Linked DNA regions of Homo sapiens: region 2 is linked to region 1. Evidence: promoter capture Hi-C in 16 types of primary human blood cells and fetal thymus (Javierre and others, 2016). All regions are on one chromosome and are shown on one strand. The core of a region is centred on a gene start or on the middle of the fragment in contact, and the rest is flanking DNA. Distances in the headings are between cores, read along the strand shown.

The links. Contacts are between HindIII fragments. The CHiCAGO score rates a contact against its expected background, and 5 or more counts as called.
Region 2: a contact is called between a fragment that was not itself captured here and the fragment with the promoter of OR5C1 in region 1, in 5 of 17 cell types (endothelial precursors, M0 macrophages, M1 macrophages and 2 more). The highest score is 8.9, in endothelial precursors.

What each region holds. Positions count from the first base shown.
Region 1 is chr9:122,787,455-122,790,280 of GRCh38, forward strand. It overlaps OR5C1 (olfactory receptor family 5 subfamily C member 1), which reads left to right and starts at 1,479. Exons shown (of 1, transcript NM_001001923.1): 1 at 1,479-2,441. The coding sequence starts at 1,479. The coding sequence ends at 2,441. The HindIII fragment of the contact is 2,532 bases long and covers 61-2,592 here.
Region 2 is chr9:122,521,211-122,524,036 of GRCh38, forward strand. It overlaps a transcript of OR1J2 not described here. Among named protein-coding and RNA genes, the nearest start is that of OR1J4, 3.5 kb to the left of the region's middle. The HindIII fragment of the contact is 921 bases long and covers 972-1,892 here.

The DNA.
Region 1 (2,826 bases), core at 229-2,728:
ATTTATTTCCATTCGCAGGGCCTTTGTTAAATGCCTGCGTGTGCTAGGCCCTGTGTGAGAAGCTTTACATGCATTATCTCATCGAATCCTTGCAGCTTTCCCCCATTATCCAGATGAGAACATTGAGGCTCAGAGAGGCCAAGAATTCAGCTCAGGAATATATTCACATTTTCTGTTCTTTCTACTCCCCACTGTTTTCGCAAGATACCAGGCTACTCCTTTCTCCGATCTTACTCCAAAGGAAAGATGTCCCTACTAGCAAACCTCAAAAGCCATGGCCAGGTGCCCGTTGGATCTGAAGATTATTTCTGCTCATTCCACTGTCTCTTTTCTTACCTGGAAAACTGGAGAGGAGAATGCATATAGAGTCACAAAGTTTTCAATCATTGGCTGGACACTAAATATCATCCCATTCATTCATTTAACAAATCTTTTTTGAGCACCAGCTATGTGCTAGGCAATGCTCTCAGTGCTGTAGACACAAAAGTGAATAAGAGGGACAAGACCCCTGTGGGTGTGGTGGAGCATGCCTATAATCCCAGCTGCTTGGGAGGCTGAGGTGGGAGGAGGATCACTTAAGCCCAAGAATTTTAGTTCAGCCTGGGCAACATAGTGAGACCTTGTGTCTCTTTAAAAAAAAAAAAAAAAAGGCTGGGCGTGGTGGCTCACACCTGTAATCCCAACACTTTGGGAAGCTGGGGCAGGCAGACTTGAGATCAGGAGTTGAAGACCAGCCTGACCACCAACATGGTGAAACCCTACCTCTACTTAAAAAATACAAAAATTAGCCGGGCATGGTGGCGGGCACCTGTAGTCCCAGCTACTCGGGAGGCTGAGGTAGGAGAGTCACTTGAACCCAGGAGGCGGAGGTTGCAGTGACCCAAGATTGCACCACTGCACGCCAGCCTGGGCAACAAAACAAGACTCCATCTCAAAAAAAAGAAAAGAAAAGAAAAGAAAAAAGAAAAAAAGACGGGCCGGGTACAGTGGCTCATGCCTGTAATCCCAGCACTTCAGGAGGCTGAGGTGGGCGGATCACCTGAAGTTGGGAGTTCGAGACCAGCCTGACCAACATGGAGAAACTCCATCTCTACTAAAAATATAAAATTAGCCAGGCACGGTGGCACATGCCTATAATCCCAGCTACTTGGGAGGCTGAGGCAGGAGAATCGCTTGAACCCAGAAGGCGGAGGTTGTGGTGAGCTGAGATCACACCTTTGCACGCCAGCCTGGGTAACAAGAGCAAAACTCCATCTCAAAAACAAAAAAAGGCTTCTGCAATGACTTCTAAGAGTTAGAAACAGGTTTTGAGAGGTTACGTGGCTTGCTCAAGGTCACAGCAATTTTGTTGCACAGGTGAGCTGAAACCCAAGCCTACCTAACTCCCAGTACAGGATGCTTTCTTCTCCCTGGCCATGGCCTTGCCATTGCTCTTATCTCCCTCCTGCTTTGCCTCTTCTCAGTCTCTGTCCAGTAGGATGAACTCAGAGAACCTCACCCGGGCCGCGGTTGCCCCTGCTGAATTCGTCCTCCTGGGCATCACAAATCGCTGGGACCTGCGTGTGGCCCTCTTCCTGACCTGCCTGCCTGTCTACCTGGTGAGCCTGCTGGGAAACATGGGCATGGCGCTGCTGATCCGCATGGATGCCCGGCTCCACACACCTATGTACTTCTTCCTGGCCAACCTCTCCCTGCTGGATGCCTGCTATTCCTCCGCCATCGGCCCCAAGATGCTAGTGGACCTGCTGCTGCCCCGAGCCACCATCCCTTACACAGCCTGTGCCCTCCAGATGTTTGTCTTTGCAGGTCTGGCTGATACTGAGTGTTGCTTGCTGGCAGCCATGGCCTATGACCGCTACGTGGCCATCAGAAACCCACTTCTCTATACAACAGCTATGTCGCAGCGTCTATGCCTGGCCTTGCTGGGAGCATCAGGCCTGGGTGGGGCAGTGAGTGCCTTTGTTCACACAACCCTCACCTTCCGCCTGAGCTTCTGCCGCTCCCGGAAGATCAATAGCTTCTTCTGCGATATCCCTCCACTGCTGGCCATCTCGTGCAGTGACACCAGTCTCAATGAACTCCTTCTCTTCGCCATCTGTGGCTTCATCCAGACAGCCACGGTGTTAGCTATCACGGTGTCTTATGGCTTCATCGCTGGGGCTGTGATCCACATGCGCTCGGTCGAGGGCAGTCGGCGAGCAGCCTCCACCGGTGGTTCCCACCTCACAGCCGTGGCCATGATGTACGGGACACTCATTTTCATGTACCTGCGCCCCAGCTCCAGCTATGCCCTGGACACTGACAAGATGGCCTCTGTGTTCTATACCCTGGTCATCCCGTCTCTCAACCCACTCATCTACAGCCTCCGCAATAAGGAGGTCAAGGAGGCCCTCAGGCAGACCTGGAGCCGATTCCACTGTCCAGGGCAGGGGTCCCAGTGATTGGTCCAGGGAGGCTGGGTAGGTCTGACTATGAGGGGATGAGGAAGGTCGGGGCCTCTTTCTGGCCCCGTCACTGTCGGTAAAGATGGGATGTTCCTCTGGCTTGGATGTCTCATGTCATTGTTTAAGGGACAGTAAAGAGGGAAATGAAAGCTTATAGCAGGGAGAAAAAGATTTGGGGTTCATCTAGGGCTAGACCTAGAGCCAGACGCTAGACCAGGCTAATGTTTCTGTTGCACTGCCTCAGGTTCTTCAACATTCAAAACATTCTTCAATATTCAGCTGGGTGCAGTGGCTCATGCCTGTAACCCCAGCACTTTGGGAGGCCAAGGCAGGAGTTCAAGACCAGCCTGGGCAACACAGGGAGACCCCCCCACCATCTCTA
Region 2 (2,826 bases), core at 182-2,681, 270 kb before region 1:
ATTTTCTCTACCTTCTCCATCAGAGATGAGTTTTGAAGCAGAACTTGTGCAGACACTCCTGAATTATGGTGACCATGGGCAGCTTGTCATGTTGGTTATATTCCCAATTCAAAAGCAATAACCTGCCCTAGGACACAGCAACATATCTGTTCTGGCTTGAGCTAGAACCAAATAACTAAAGGGCAATGAACAAGTGAGTTCATGTGTGGGTAGGTAAGGAAAGACAGATCAGAAAAAGACCTTACTCTTCACTTGTTTGATATTGACTCAAAGAGTGATCCTTCATCGGGGGCTCATGTAGCTGCCTTTTGGCATCCAGTCCTTTGTAGAACAAGAAAGAGTGCCACCCCCACTCCTTGCTGCAAGCACAGGGTCACTTTGTTTACAGGCTTAGCCCCGACCTTTTCCAGAGCCAAAACCTGAACAGGGATAGAATCTTTATTGTTGGTTTATTGTTGGTCTAGGTAAAGCATGCCTTGATAGCCTCAGCACAATCATGACCTGCTGTACACTCTCATCTCTGCTATAGTGATGTGATCTGTAGAACTAAGTGCCTGACTCAGTTTCCCTGCCGGCACCCCAGTTCTGTTGTTCAGATCCCTGAAGATCTGCCTAGTCTTGTCAGGCCCATCCTCCAGAGAGACCAATATTGTCATTTATGTTTTAGCCACAGGCTGGTGACACTTCTCTGAATGACTTTTCCTCAAGAAATGGCAAGCTCACTTGTCTGTTGGGAAGTGTTTCATCACTATCTGTCTTACCAGTCCACCTCATCTCCCAGATCAGTTTGTCTTGGTTTTGGACAGCCCAAAGCACACTGGGGTGCACCGTATTGATTTGAATATGCAAATAGAACTGAACATCAATCACATTGGAAGTGTGCACTTTATATGAGTGCATTTCCCTCTAGCCATGCCAGGGCTAGGATTCGTGACCTTTTCCAGTGAAGCACCTCATTGAGTTTAGAACAAAGCTTGCTGCATTTTTGAAATCCATGAATGTGTGATTTTTTTTCACAAGTTAACAAATAGTTCTGAAAATTGGCAATTATGGACGTTTCAAGTGACCAGTGTACTTCCTTCTCAAAAGTTAACACTAATTCTTTCACAGTGTGACAATAGAACAATCTTCCTCAGAGGGGAGGAATCAAAACATCCTAGAACCAGGAACTCCAGCACTTGATTTTAGCACATATGTAACACACAATTCTGACATGGAAATTTTAAGAGTAAACAAAAATTATTCTATTTTGTCACAGATGGAAAGTGGAAGGGGAATTTGCTAAAGAATTAAGTTCACTTAGCTTTTGAAGGAAAAAATAAACCCATTAATGTTGTGATGGTTATATTATTTGAATCCAAGAACTGTGTGCATGTGTGTGTGTGTGTGTGTGTGTAACTCACATATACATACAATTTAATTTGTTTGTAATTAAGGACAAATGTTGGAATTAATACTAAAAATAGTAAAACATTCTTTATTTTATAGATTGTGCCCCTCAGTAGCCATTCAGCAAGTTACCTGTCTGTGCCAGGCAGTGTGCCTATTCTTGGTCAAACAGATCTGGATAAAGAGAAAGCCTCCAGGCAAAAGAAGCTCATATTCTGATAGTGTAGCAACAGGTAAACTAAGAAATATGCAAGAGTACAAAAAGTGCCTTAACGTAATAACACCACGAATAGTTGTGCTTATTTTGCATGGCTACTGTGTGTCAGGCATTGTATTAAAAGCTGTACCTGTATTATGTCATTTAATCCTCATAATAATTCTACATATATACACTGTTACTATCTATATTTTACAGCTGGGAAAATTGAGGCTTAGAGACGATGAAATACTTACATGGTAGTAACACAAGGGCGTATAGTTAATGCTGCCTGGATATCAGCAAAAGCTTTACAGGGGAAGTAATTCTTCAGTTGGGGGTTGAAGGATGCTCAGGATTGATACATAATGGAACAAATGAGTCTAGGTAGAGTGGACAGAGTGGGCCAGGGCACTGAATTTGCATGGTATGTTCAGGGAAATGTAAGAAAAATGATGTTGCTATACATAGGTGTGTATGAGTCAAGGAAGCATCAAGAGGTGAGTCTAGACAGGGAGACAAAGACTATATTGTGAGGGGGGTAGATTGTCCTGTTAAGAGGTTTAGACATTGCCTTGCAAGTGATGGGCACCATTGGCTGGGGTGGGGTGGAATTGGGATTAGTCTCAGGGAAGGTTATGTTTGTGTTTTCTAAAGATTACTCGGGTAACCAACGTGTGAGATGGTTTGGCAATGGATCGGAGTGCCTTGAATCAAGATGCTTAATTAGAAGGTCATTGTACATTCAGGTAACAGATAATGTGTGCCTGGATGAAGACAATGGCATATAGATAGAGAAGAGAATACTCTTGAAGGTAGACTAGACGGTATTGGTAATTGATGGGAAGTAGGTGATAGAATGAAGGATTGCTCTTGATTTATGGTTCTGTGGACTGATATTTAAGAACAAAATGGAAGACTAGGCACCTTAAATAATTTTGATTAGGTTTAACAGTCTTAAGGAAGTGAGGAAACAAACTGAAGACCATTTGCTTCTTAAAAATGGGTTCTGAGCAAGAAGAAAGCAAAACCCCTAAATAGGCAAGGGGCACTGGGAAGCTTTCTATCATGCTACCTCTCTCCATTACCCCACCTCTGATTCAAAGCATGCCCTGCTCATTACCCTACCAAGGTGCAAAGATTTATAAGTCACCTGTATGTCAGCAGGAATTATTTTAATGCTAACATCACATTAATTCTCTTTGACATAGATGACCTTAAAGGAATAGAAATTTGAGCTT